4 separate regions of the Homo sapiens genome follow, and all the other regions are linked to region 3. The links are contacts of gene promoters, found by promoter capture Hi-C in human tissues and cell types (Jung and others, 2019). All regions are on one chromosome and are shown on one strand. Each heading gives the region's core, a stretch centred on a gene start or on the middle of the fragment in contact. The rest is flanking DNA. Distances are from core to core; before and after follow the strand shown. Region 1 has its middle 130 kb from the start of SH3BP4. Region 2 overlaps LINC01173 (long intergenic non-protein coding RNA 1173). Region 3 holds the start of SH3BP4 (SH3 domain binding protein 4). Region 4 has its middle 200 kb from the start of SH3BP4.

Region 1 (3,730 bases), core at 357-2,856, 130 kb before region 3:
CAAAGATATTTTAAATTTATAATCCCAAGGGAGAGCTAAAACCATGAGGTGAAAAGTTGATGGGAAACTTTATAATGGATGGATCAGGCTGACAATACCTGATTCCTCTCATTTATCTTAACGTCACCAAAGGTGGGACCCCAGACATCCTGTGCCTCTTGACTCTCGGCAATAAGTTTCTAGTGTCACCTGTAATGTTTTATTGTCTGTAAATTGAAGAACCTGAGCCAAATTGAGCCTCTAAATCTAACTATCCATCCACAGGAAATATGAGGGTTGGAAGACAGCCTTAAATGATTCCTCAACGATTCAACCAGCCCAATCCAAAAGCGAGACATTCTGTAAGATAAATGACCTGGAAAATGAGCTGATTGTTTCCAACACATAGCTGGCATGGAGAAACCAGAAGAAGAGTTGAAACTGTTAAGATCACAGGAGAATTAAGAGACATATCAGCTAAGAGCAATAAATAGCGCAAATGAACCGGAAAAAGACACTTTCGAGACAACAATCAGGAAAACTGAAGATAGACTGGTTATTAGATAATATTAAGGAATGATTACGAATCTTTTGGATATAAGAATGGTGCTGTGTGTGTGCATGTAAGCACTCATCATTTCTTTGTTAGAGAGAAGCACTGGAGTATTTTTCAGTGAATGATATGGCATCTGGAATTTGTTGTACATGCGCCAGAAGAAAAGCCAAAACAGTTTTGGGAGGACAGATGCAACACAAAGGACAGAATGTGGGTAATTGTTGGAACGAGTGATGGGCACTAGGGGTTCATTATACTATTCTCTATACTTTTGTGTATGCTTCAAATTGTTTTGTTTTTTGTTTTTGTTTTTTTTTTGAGATGGAGTCTCTCTCTGTTGCCCAGGCTGGAGGGCAGTGGTGCCATCTCAGCTCACTGCAACCACCGCCTCCTGGGTTCAAGCGATTCTTGTGCCTCAGGCTACAGAGTAGCTGGAATTAATAGGCTCATGCCACCATGCCCAACTAATTTTTGTATTTTTAGTAGTGATTGGGTTTTCCCATGTTGGACAAGCTGGTCTTGAACTCCTGACCTTAGGTGATCTGCCTACCTCAGCCTCCCAAAGTGCTGAGATTACAGGCGTGAGCCACCGCGCCCGACCTTGAAATTGTTTTATATTAAAAGATTGTTTTTAAATGTCACCCTGGATTAGCAAAGATGTGGAAAGACCTGTATTAGTCCGTTTTCACGCTGCTGATAAAGACACACTCAAGACTGGGCAATTTACAAAACAAAGAGGTTTAATGGACTCACAGTTCCACGTGGCTGGGGAGGCCTCACAATCATGGCAGAAGGTGAAAGGCACATCTCATATGGCGGCAGACAAGAGAAGAGAATGAGAGCCAAGCGAAAGGGGTTTCCCCTTATAAAAACATCAGATCTTGTGAGAATTATTCACTACCATGAGAACAATATGGGGGAAATCGCCCCCATGATTCAATTATCTCCCACCAGGTCCCTCCCACAACACATAGGAATTATGGGAGCTACAATTTAAGATGAGATTTGGGTGGAGACACAGAGCCAAACCATATCAGGATGTGTCAGGCTTTCCTATAGCAGATGTTGAGAAGCAGATCATATGAGGGTGATGGAACAAGTCATGCCTCAGAAAAGACTAGTGGGGGAAGGGAAGTGGCACCAGGGATGGGAGGTAGGGGGGAGCAATATCCAACAAAATCCCCTGGAGGGTAAATGATATGGTTTGGCTATGTCCCCTCCCAAATCTCATCTTGAATTGTATCTTTATGGCAGAGTGAAAACGGGCTAATACAAACTTTGGCTCCACCCCACAGGAGAACTCCAGAGGAAGGGGAGCTCATACTTTAGAGTTGCCTCAGTCAGGGGTAAAGAGTGTTTATTCTTAAGTTATACATGTGGAGTGTTTACACATGGCAACCACACTAGGAAGTCAATTCACTGGTCCGTTGTTTTCCCTAGGTGAGGGAGGTATTTTAAATTTTCATCTTTATACTTTTGCAGATTCTCAATAATGAGCGTATATTGTAATTGAAGAAAAATGATGAAAGATACATAATATAGATTTTTAAAACTTAATGCAACACCCAGCATGCTGAGAGTACGGCTGGCTCAGGGTGACAATGTCAAGCATGGACATGGGTGCTACATTAGAAAGAAGGTGCTGGAAACACACACTGGTTTGTGGGTGAATCCCAATGCCTTTGATGTAAATGGGACTCATAAGGAGAGAAGCAGATTTTGAGAGATAAAAGATAGTTCTGTTTGGACGTAGCTAGTTGAAAATGCCGGTGAGTCTTCAAAACTACAAAGAGATGCCACTTCACACCCACTAGGATGGCTAGAACCAAAGTGAGATAATAACAAGTGCTGACAAAAATGTGGAGAAATTGAACCCATGTGCACTGTTGGTGGAAACAGAAAACAGTGCAGCCACTATGGAAAACAATGTGGCAGTTTCACCAAAATACAAAGATCGAATTAGTATATGATTCAACTACTCCATTTCTGGGTATATATTCAAAAGAAAAGAATGCAGAGTCTCTGAGAGATAGTTGCACACCCAAGTTCATAGCAGCATTACTCACAATAGCCAAAAGGCAGAAGTAACCCAAGTATCTGTCAACAGATGAATGGATAAACAAATGCAGAATATATTAATACATACAGTGCAAAGTTACTCAGGTTTAGAAAAGAAGGAAGCATTAACACATGCTACTGCATGGATGAATCTCAAAAACATTAAACGTTATGCTAAGTGAAAGATGCTAGTCCCAAAAGACCACATATTATATGATTCCATTTATATGAAATGTCCAGAACATTTCTACAGAGGCAGAAAGCAGATTAGTGTTTGCCTAGGGCCGGGGGAGGGAGCTGGGAGAGCAGAGTTCGATAGCTAAAGCTTATGGGGTTTCTTCTGGAGGTGATGAAAATGTTCTAAAATTGTAATGGTACTTGCATATATTTGTGGATATACTAAAAATCATTCAATCGTATACTTTTAATGGATAAATTGTGTGATATGTCAACAATAAACTATTAAAAATATACAAAATGAAACATATAAAACTATAAGTCTTTCAGAAAGTGATGCAAATTCAGGACTGAAGTGAGTGTGACTCAAATATCAGTCAAAGACATGTGAAGATTTCATTCGTACCTATCTCTTTGGAGACAGGGGTCCTAATACCCATGCTTTGTGATGCACTTTTAGTGAAATTAAATTTGAGTTGCTCACTTTTTCAATGATTAATTATGCACAGAATCAATTGCATTAGTAAAGACCCAAACTGCTGGCATGGACATGGTGGCAGTCAGCTGCCTACCAGAGGCTGCCAGCTGCCAGAGCCGTTCTACAGGCAGAAGGGGTTCAACGAGAAATGCTCATCATAAGGCATTGCTCTAGGTTGCGCCAACCACACGTGTGCACAGAGAAACTGCCTTGTTCTCAGTCCATTTGGATAATCCACTGTGCTACATCAATCCACGAATGCCTGACACACACACATGCATGCAGACACACTCACACACACACCCTCTCACATATACACACACTCACATACACACACTCGCACATGCACACACACATCACACACACACTCTCACATACACACAGCATACACACATACACACTCGTACACTCATACACACACCACACACATACACACACATTCACATACACACACCACACACACTCTCACATATACACACTCA
Region 2 (3,232 bases), core at 78-2,577, 250 kb after region 3:
GGTGCAATCTCGGCTCACTGCACCTTCAACCTCCTGGGCTCAAGCAATCCTCCCACCTCAGCCTCCTGAGTAGTTGGGACTACAACTGCACACCACCACACCCGGCTAATTTTTGTATTCTTTTGTAGAGGTGGGGTTTCACTGTGTTGCCCAGGCTGGTCTTGAACTCCTGGGTTTAAGTGACCCTCCCTTCTTGGCCTCCTGAAGTGTTGGAATTACAGGCATGAGCCACTGTGCCCAGCCAAGAACAGATTTTAAATGTTTCACAACAACAAAATAAGTATGTGAAGTGATATGTTAATTAGCTGGATTAATTCATTCCATAATGTATATATAATCAAAACATTACATTGTACCCTATAAATATATATAATTATTATTTGTCAATTAAGAATATATTTAAAAAGAAGTAAAGAGATTGACTGTGGAGCTGGTGGCATCCCTGCCCCCTACCCCAACACCCCACTTCTCAAGTATGTGTCTCCTTTCCTGAGTAACTGGCAAGGCCTTTGAAGGGGGAACTGGGGAGGGAGGAGTGCAAGGTAAAATTTATGAGACTATTTTTCCAAAGACAGATGACAAAATTCAAAATAAATTGGGACAAGGGATGTTTTTTCCCTCTCCTGCAGAACTATAGACTTGGGCCATGATTGAGTAGGGCCTGAAGAAAGCACAGTTCTGCTTGGCCCTTGCCGGTTTGGGGCTGCTATAGGGGCTCTTTGGTGAAGGGGGGTGATGTCTTCTTGGATGGCAGTGGCCGTGGTGCTGAGGAGTGTTGCTTGTGCCCTAGAAATCACAAGATGACTGGTGTGAAAGTCACTTCTTCCCCTGTGTGAGAGCCCCTTGTGGATGCCCAAAATCAACTGGGGAGAATGGGAGAGTGAGAGTAAATGAGCGAGGAGAATTGGGGAACAAATAGTGCTGGTACCTCCTGAGAACCCATGTACAAGGAGGACCCAGCGATGTTTGAGAGGCCTGTTTAGACCAAAGGCTACAAGAAAGTGCATCAACATGTAAAGAAAGATGATCTTCTTACTTTGGGAGTATCCATCCTTTTAATTTTTTTCTTATACTTTTCATATATTTAAGTTTTTGAAAGTAAGCATGTGTATTAGTCCATTCTTGCATTGCTATAAAGAAATATCTGAGACTGATCCTGGCTAACACGGTGAAACCTCATCTCTACTAAAAATACAAAAAATTAGCCGGGCATGGTGGTGGGCGCCTGTAGTCCCAGCTACTCAGGAGGCTGAGACAGGAGAATGGCGTGAACCCAGGAGACGGAGCTTGCAGTGAGCCGAGATGGCACCACTGCACTCCAGCCTGGGGGACAGAGCAAGACTCTGTCTCACACACAAAAAAAAGAAAAAAAAATATATATATATATATATCTGAGACTGGGTAATTTATAAAGAAAAGAAGTTTAATTGGCTCATGGTTCTGCAGGCTGTACGGGAAGCATAGTGTCTTCTAGTGAGGCCTCAGGAAACTTACAATCATGGCGGAAGGCAAAGGGGAAGCAGGCACGTCTCACATAGCTAGAGCAGGAGGAAGAGGAGAGGGGAGAGGTGCCACACACATTTAAGTGACCAGATCTCTCACTTGCATTAATTACCACTTTCAGATACGTAACTTCCTAGAAGAGAAGGCAAGAGGGCAGGCAGAGGTGAGTAATGGTGGAAATAATGCTAATTTACCCGGGATGATGTCATCTGTGGTTCTGGCTAGGGCCAAGTGAGTATGACAGCATAGATGAGTAGGTGTGTGGCTGAAGCTTTGTACCAGGCTCACCTCTGTCTTGTTCTCAGGTCCCCAGTACTGTTGAGACCGCAGGGTGGAAGCTGTAGAGTGGTCAGCATTTGGATGCCACATACTGCAATCACCCCTGGTTGTAGATGGGAAAATGAGGCATGGCCTGTATGCTGACTGTCTCACAGCTGCTCAGCAACTAGCGGCTCCACATTCTCTTCCTCCTATCTCACCCTGAACAGGCTGCCTCAATTTTTCACACTGAAATCCAATCATGGCCAAAGCAATTTGGGACTAAGCAGAAAACCTTCCCCCTGCCCCCTCTGCAGAAGCTGGATTCTTAGTGACATGTACTCTCAATAAGAAGCTCAATTTTTTCTTGGCTATGAATGAAAGTGATATGATTATACTTATGAAGCCTGTGCCTACAGCTTCTATCAAAGTAGTAACGACACTTTGGAAGGGGAAAGGAAGGTGTAACATTCTAAGCATTAGTCCATATTTCAGAGAATTCATAGCTTTTGGATTTCGTGGTATTTGAATAAGAAAAGAAAAACAACTTGAGTTATTTAAAGCTATATAGATACACTTACAAATAATTAATGTAAGCATAAACACACCCTTATTCAGTTTCTCCCCTCATTTTGATATTCCATATTATTAAGCCAAACCTCCCAGAACCCCCTGCTACCACACCATCTACCTTAAAGATCATTACATTTGTAAAAAGAAAATTCAGTTACTGGGTTAAAATTCTTCTGAACTCTGGCTGGGTGTGATGGCTCACGCCTGTAATCCCAGCACTTTGAGGCCGAGGCAGGTGGATCACAAGGTCAGGAGTTTGAGACCAGCCTGACCAACATGGTGAAACCCTGTCTCTATTAAAAATGCAAAATGTAGCCAGGCATGGTGGCGCGTGCCTGTAATCCCAGCTACTCAGGAGGCTGAGGCAAGAGAATTGCTTGAACCTGGGAGGCGGAGGTTGCAGTGTGATGAGATCGTGCCATTGCACTCCAGCCTGGGCGACAGAGCAAGACTCCGTCTCAAAAAAAAAAAAAAAAAAAAGAAAGAAAAAATACTTCTGAACTCAAAACATTTGGCCTGCCTTGTTAACGACATTCATCTGTGCATTCCTTTCTGGAAGCTTGTTTCAGCAGAAGTGTGTGGGTATCTAAGCAACCTTTGAGGCTTTGGGTGGAGTGGCATTAGCTTCAGCACCAAACAGCATGGTTCTTGGTTCTGAGTGCCCATTTGAAGGACCTTGAAGCTTTTTAAAAGTACAGGTCTCCCAGCCCAGGTAAACTGATCCTGAATCTCCAGGGCTGAAGCCCTGGGCACCTGCAGCGATTGAAATTCCCCGCTGTGCTGTGCACGCTCTGGGAGGACTGAGGACTACCCAAGCAGAAGCAGTTTTTCAGCTAGATGCTGACAGTCTGGAGTCCCTTGCTCCTTGTAAAGGCAAAACGAGCTACTACTAGAGCAT
Region 3 (3,238 bases), core at 377-2,876:
GCAAACCACCCATTAATTTTTATGGTGGCTTGAGAAGCAGATTGAGAATCATTACCTTCATTTTTACAAGGCAAGGAACCAAAACCACAGAGGGCGGTGAGGATCCAGGCCTCTCCCATCATTTCATCTGGGCCACGGATCTCAAGGAAAGCCCCCAGCCCACTGGGAAGGGGACTCGTGGCCAGCAGAGATTCTGCCCGGGTAGGGAGCAAGGAAAAAACCCAAACTTTGGAGCTCAGAGACGGTCACAAGGGTGAGAAGGGGCGGCTGCATTCAGGGATTCTCTGGTTTAGGCAAGAATGGCTCCAGTTCTAACTTAATGTTCAAATCTGCCAGGCTGTGACAAGGCTGGTAAAAAATGTGGGATTGGGGATGGTTTCCTGTTTGCTGTTTATATTTCTCTTTATCTCTAGCTTTCTGTCCTGAGCATACATTGTTTCTGTAATCAGAACAAAAGTTATGCGAACTTTATTATTATCACGGATAAATTCTATAGTTCCAATCTGCCTACTAACTTGGAAAGAATAAGCAGGAATACAATCTCGCACAGTGTTCTTTTTCAGATCTCATCGATCCATCAGGCTCCACGACCCTCTGCTCGCTGAGTCCGGCGGCTCTCCCGCGGCTCCTCCCGCGCGGCATCTCTGGGCGCCCGACACCCGGTCAGGGCCAGCTGGGCCTGTCCCCAACCCCCGTCTACACCGCAGGCCCCGGGCTAGGAGCCGCGGGACCCAGGGTTGGGGTCCCAACTGACACCCGCCCGTGCCGCGGAGCGGGCTTCTCGGTAAACATCGCTCAGAGAACAACGCGCCTCTATCCCAGCCGGTCCCCGCCCGCGGGCCGCCGGCGCTGTCACCTCGCGGCTGCTCGGTCACCCGATCGCCAAGCCAGAAACCGGAGTTTTCAATTTCATCCTCACAGGAGGGATCTCCGAAGAAGTTGAAATATGCATTGTCACCAACAAGTTTAACCGGAGACCGCGCGTCCTTCCCTCCTCCCCAGCGCCGCTCGAGGGGGGCGCCCCGACCCCTCCACGCCCTCCCGTGGCCCCCACGGCCCCCGTGAGCCGAGCGCGCCCCCCGATTTGCGCCCGAGGACGCGTCCGGTTGCCCAGGGAGGCCACCCCGCAGGGCCGCCCGCCGGGAAGTGGCCAGAGCCGGGGTTGGGGGGCGGCCCGAGCGCACGCGGAGGGCTGCGGCTCGGCGCCCGGAACCCCGGGCCGGGTCCCTGCCCACCAGCACCAGGGAGACCCGAGCGCCCGGGGGAGCGGCGAGGGGCGCGCGAGGCTTCCCCGAAGCCGCCCCACGCCCAGGCACCCGCGCAGCCCCGAACTCAGGCGGCGGTGGCACGATCGGCGCCCGCGGCACGATCTGCGCCCGCAAGGGAGTGCAAAGCCCCCGAGCACGACCCCGCGCCCCCGCCGGCCCCCAGGGCCCTGCCGCCCGAGGCGCTCCCCGCCGCCGCCTGCCTACCTGGCTCGCATGGCGTCCCCGCCGGCTCCTGAGGCTCCGCTCGTCGGCCAGCGGCTCGGCCCAGCCGGGGGCGCGCGCGGCTCCGCGGGACTCACGGCGGCGGCGGCGGCGGTAGTGGCGAGGGGCCCGGACCGCCGAGAGTGCCGGGCGCGCTGGGCCCCCGCCTCGGCGGGCGGAGGGTGGTCCCGCGCCTGGGCGGGGGCGGGGGCGGGGGCGGGGGCGGGGGCGCGGGGGGCGGGGCCAGGACCGGAGCTGAGGCCGCGGAGGGGGTGGTCCCGCGCCGGGGCGGGGCTTCGGGAGAGGGGCGGGGCGGGGCGCGGCCGTCTGAGGCTGGCGAGCGTGGGGCGGGCTGGGGGTGGTGCCGCGGCTCCGGGTCCAGGCGGGTATCCAGTCTGGGCGCCTCCTCTTCTTCCTCCGCCCGGAGCCGGCCAGGGTAGCGGGGCCTTGGCCGCCCGGCATCCTCGGGTCTGGGTCCCCGGTACCGAGCAGGTCTGGGTGCTGGCCCGCGCTCCTGTGCCCCCCCGCACCCCCATCTCCCACCCCTTCTCCGGGAACCCCTAGCGAGGACCCCTGGGGCGGTGCGGTCCCCCCGCGAGCGGGCGTGGGCGAGGGTCGCGCCGCGTTCGGAGACGCTTTACTACACCTTGGCTGAGGACAGTGGAGGGAAGGCAGGCGCGAGGCTGCGGGGGCCGGAGCGAAAGTTACAAACTAACAACAGGGAAGGCAGTCCGGCTGAAAATCATAAAAGGAGGAGAGTTTCCTGCGAAGCGGAATGCAGATTGAAGGGCTCTGGTCGGAATCGTTTACACTTTGTCTGACCTGGGCGCCTCTGGGCCCCCGGCGCGTAAAACAGGCCTGGCACGTAGTAGGCGCTCCATCAATGCCCAGTGAGTGAACGCACCACTTAACTATGTGGCCAGCAACGTCTATGGACCGACACATCTAATCCTAAAAAAAAAAAAAAATCCCAATTTTGGCTAGTCCATTTCACACGAGTAAACTAGAGCTCGGAGGGTTGGTTCGCCACAGAGGAGAAGGGTAGAACCAGAATCTGAACCGAGGCCGACTCCAGAGGCTGGGGTCTAACCACTGCGCCACTGCCTGGGGCCCTCGGGACTGCGCCCACCCCCACCCCGGGAACCCGGAGCCCAGGAGAAAGCGCGGGTCTTTGCCGGGGAAGAAGCCAACATTTGTTGCTCCTGGTCCTGAGCGAGACACACACAGTCAGTCCTCACCATTAACCCCGAGGCAGATATTGTTATTGTCCCCGTTTTTATAGGTGGCTTGAGACGTGCAGCACTATGTTATGATCGCATGGGGCGTGCCAGAGTCTGAATTCAAACCGGGTATGTTCAGACTCCCGAGCCCCTGCGGCTGCCCCTAAGGCCTGCCGCTCCTGCCGTCTGGGAGACCTTCCTTTCCCTAAGGAATCTGGTTTTCTGCCACTCCATTTGAAGTCTGTGTTGAAGTTTCAGGAGACACAGGTGGACAGAGGCACCGACCTAGGGCTCGGGAGAAGGGTGGACATTGCTGTTCCGATTTTGGTGTCATCTGTGTGTAGATCATGGAATTCCTGAAAATGGATACGAGTATCCCTAAAATACATGCCGCAGATTTTGAAAGGAGGCAGTGAGGCGAAGGGGCAGGTGGAGGAAGCAGAGAAGCCTCCGAGCAGAGGAGAGTTTCTGGGTGGCTAGGAGGTCTGATTGGTGTAGGGATGTGTCTGGAGTGTGCTTGAATCTCTGGCAAGTTATCTCGCCTCTCTG
Region 4 (3,618 bases), core at 1,049-3,548, 200 kb before region 3:
GGTCTCCCTCTGTCACTAGGCTGGAGTGTAGTGGTGCAATCACAGCTCACTGCAGCCTCAATCTCCTGGGCTCAAGCAATCCTCCCATCTCAGCCTCCTGAGTACCTGGGACTACAGGCACCTGCCACCATTCCTGGCTAATTTTAAAAATTATCTATAGCGACGAGGTCCTGGCTAACTTTTTACATTATTTGTAGAGACGAGGTCTTGCTATGTTGCTGGTCTCCAACTCCTGGGCTAAAGTGATCGTTTCACCTCAGCCTCTGGAATTGCTGGGATTACAGGCATGAGCCACCAGTCCCACCCAATTTTGCAATTTTAGGAAAATAAACATAAATTTGAATCTTAGGATTGCATTTATTAAAACTCTATGTGTATGTTTGTACACTGTGAGATGTGTGAAGGAAGCTCACCAAAATGTTAAACAGCTCTTTTCTCTAAGTGGTGTGGTTTAATAGTCTGCATCTGTTTCAATAAATGCTTGTTATTCTTATAGTAAACTTTAAATTGCCCAGTGCTGATGATCTAGTTTACAGATTGGCTGCATAATGTAGGGAAGCCAGAGAATGCTCACTTTCACAGCAGTCTGAGTGCTGGCTTTAGAGATGGGAGTTGATTGAGTCAAGGATCTAAAGAAAGTGCTCTTTTCCAAGCTGGATGGAGAGGCTCGAGTGCCTTGCAGTTTGACCTCCCTGCTGCTCCTGTCAGATTCCAGGGCCAAAGCCCACTCCTCTTCCATCCTGGTGGGGGCCATAATCAACCTCACTAACTACTGGTTCCCAAGCCTGGGAGGACACACCCCAGGGCTCTGCTTCATGGTATCCACAGCTTATGCACAAGCCAGTGCTGTTGTCGTTTGGCTTTTATCATGATTTTATCTCATCTATAATCTCTTTACCCTCAATATCTCTTATAAAGAGTTATCAGTTAGTTGCTGCTGTGTAACAAACCTCCCCAAAACTTAGCGGCTTAAAGAAACAATCATGCATGATTCCTTACAAGCCTAGAGTTTGCCTGGGCAGGTTCCACTGGACTTGTTGGTACATCTGTAAGCAGGCTGGATGATAGCTGGTCTAGCCTGGTCTCAGCTAGGAAGATTCACCTCTCTCTGTTCCATACATACATTTAGTCTCTCTCCTTCTAACCACTTAGCCTGGGCTTGTTTTCACGGTAGAGGCAAGGGTCCAAGTGAGACAGCAGAATTGTACAAAACATCTTGAGGCCTAGACTCAGAACTCAGTCGCTTCCACCCCACTCTGTTGGCTAAAGCAAGCCAAAAGACCAGTTCGATTCAAGGAACATAGAAATGAACTCCAACTCTTGAGGGAAAGAGTGCAAAGTCACATTGCAAAAGGCATGAGTGGAGGAAAGGGCAAAACATTGGGATCACTTTTGCATCCTCTACTGAAAGTCAATTATGTAACCCTGCTGGTTACATCGTCTCTGCAAGGGCATGTAGAGACTGGACGTAAATAGTCACACTGTGGGGCCATTTGTGAGCTGCCACTTTGCCATCAAGGCAGCTTTTTGTGCACACAGAGTTAAATCTGGATGGGTGCCTGGGAGTCTCCTGTCTACATGATTTGGTGTCCCTCTCTTTTTCTGCCACATCTGTCTTCTCTTTCTCATCCCTTGCCCCAGGAACCCTTGCTCAGAAAGTCCATGGAGATTTTAGTTTTGCAGAATTGCCCCGGAAGGGCAGCAGTTAACCCTGATACTCTTCCCCCAAAATGGGCTTGTCACACCATCCAGCTTCTTCCTGCAAAGTATCTACAACACACCCACATTTTCCCTGGCTGACTGACACCTCTCAGAAGATGGCTTTATTGCTTTATTGCCCTAATTCACTTTTCCACCAAAGGTGAAGAGAGAAAGGAACCATAGAGTGAAGGGTTATGGGAAGGGACTTTCCAGTAGACTTACCATAAACAAATTTGAGCTCTTTTTATTTGGGGGGTGACAAGAAAGCAGATGACAGATGGAGGAGCCTCTGTGGAAATGAAGACTATGTCCACAAAGCCCTCCTGGCGAATCCTCCCAGTGTTAAGATTCCAGCGTGTTTATGGGTGGTGGGCTGCAGACGTGCCCTCTTCTCTCTGGAACAGTAAAAGCAAATGCCTCTTCCTCTTCCACCACTGTGTCAGGGAAACAATGGGGCCCTTTAACTCCATTGGTTCTTTTCCAGGCCAAATGATGACATCATTAAGGCATCCGATTTTCTCCTTACATAAAAGAAGATTAATGGAAGACCACAAGAGGAACTATTGTTTTGCCAGCTTTGTTCAAATGTGTGGTTAAAATACTTTCTTTCACAAAACACAACATTGCCCCAGAGGTAACAAAAAACCCTTCTGTAGTGATGTGCCCTCCCTTCTTGAGCGAGACCACACACAAGAAACTGAACCATGCCCACAGTCAATGCCCCTGATTGTCCTGGGTCCTGATTCCTCACCAGTAGCCCCAGCTGCCAGGAAATTGGAACCGCATGTAAAAAAGCCAAGGTAAAACAAGCCCATCTGGACCATGGTCAGAAAAAAAATTCTATTTGCCAAATCCTAAGGTCTTCATCCATAAACAGAGTCAAGGATGCTGGAACTGGAAGCCTTGAAGGTGTGAAGGTGGATGGGTGACTTGTACTCTCTCAGCTGGGCTCCATGTCCTTTCTTATCAGTGATGAATGAAGACACCATCTGAGAAGCAATGGAGAAAGCTTATTTCTGAGATAATGATTCCAATCAGTTCATTATGTCACCTGTCATGGGGCCCCTGGCATTTTCCCAGCCGTGAGCAGAGCCCCCTCTCCATTCTATGGAGTCCTTGGGTCTTGGAGCTGTCGACAGGAGTTTGCCAAGGTCTGGAGGAAATTGGGTCCCTGTGGGTGGTATCCCCACATGGACAGCCAGCTGTGACGGGATGAACAATCACTTCTTCAGGCTGTCAGATGCTTTGGTCCTTGGGCTGCTCCTAATATTTTTTTCCACAAAGCTAACACAAGATGGGATGCTTCCTCTTTGCCTAGACTTGGCAAGCGTCTTATTGTTCATATAAACAATAGTGAGAAAGGCTATCCATGGCTTTGTAAAATATCCTTTGCCCAAATCAATACAAGTATTTCTGTTCTGAAACCCAATATATTAAATTCTGTACCAGTGCTGTCCAATGGAAGTTTCCTGTATGATGTAAATATTCCATGCTGTGCTATCCCATACATATTTGCATGTGGCTAGTGAGAAGCACCTGACCTGTGGCAATTGCAACTGAGGAAGTGACTTTAAATTTTTATTTTATTTAATTTAAATGTGAGTAGCCATGTGTCATCTATATAACTTTTACAGTTATGCACTTGCTTATAAAGTTTAACATACACTGACACATGACCTAGCAAGTCTATTCCTAGGTATTTATCCAAGAGAAATTAAAGCAAACGAACACACAGAGAGTCATACGCAAAATGTTTGTAGCAGCTTCCTTTATAATAGCCGAAGATAGGAAACCACACAAATATCTATCAACTGAGGAGCAGAAAAACAAATGATGGTATCAACATGTAATGGAATATTACCCAAAGGTGAACAGAAACACACTTCTGATACACAGCAACACTTTGTTAAGTGAAAG

The links. The method cuts DNA at HindIII sites, captures the fragments that hold promoters and counts their contacts. A contact is called where the count stands out against the background at its distance.
Region 1: a contact is called between a fragment that was not itself captured here and the fragment with the promoter of SH3BP4 in region 3, in 1 of the 25 tissues and cell types used here (thymus).
Region 2: a contact is called between a fragment that was not itself captured here and the fragment with the promoter of SH3BP4 in region 3, in 2 of the 25 tissues and cell types used here (IMR-90 fibroblasts and mesenchymal stem cells).
Region 4: a contact is called between a fragment that was not itself captured here and the fragment with the promoter of SH3BP4 in region 3, in 1 of the 25 tissues and cell types used here (bladder).

What each region holds. Positions count from the first base shown.
Region 1 is chr2:235,079,148-235,082,877 of GRCh38, reverse strand. No RefSeq gene overlaps it. Among named protein-coding and RNA genes, the nearest start is that of SH3BP4, 130 kb to the right of the region's middle. The HindIII fragment of the contact is 8,690 bases long and covers 1-3,730 here.
Region 2 is chr2:234,703,809-234,707,040 of GRCh38, reverse strand. The region is part of intron 2 of LINC01173 (long intergenic non-protein coding RNA 1173); the gene reads right to left. Among named protein-coding and RNA genes, the nearest start is that of LINC01173, 23 kb to the right of the region's middle. The HindIII fragment of the contact is 4,554 bases long and covers 1-3,232 here.
Region 3 is chr2:234,950,405-234,953,642 of GRCh38, reverse strand. SH3BP4 (SH3 domain binding protein 4) reads right to left here and starts at 1,626. Exons shown (of 6, transcript NM_014521.3): 1 at 1,473-1,626. It overlaps LOC105373938 (a long non-coding RNA gene), which reads right to left. Exons shown (of 7, transcript XR_007088132.1): 6 at 2,292-3,045; 7 at 1,844-2,204. RefSeq lists an enhancer at 524-1,173. The HindIII fragment of the contact is 19,834 bases long and covers 1-3,238 here.
Region 4 is chr2:235,148,113-235,151,730 of GRCh38, reverse strand. No RefSeq gene overlaps it. Among named protein-coding and RNA genes, the nearest start is that of SH3BP4, 200 kb to the right of the region's middle. The HindIII fragment of the contact is 3,579 bases long and covers 509-3,618 here.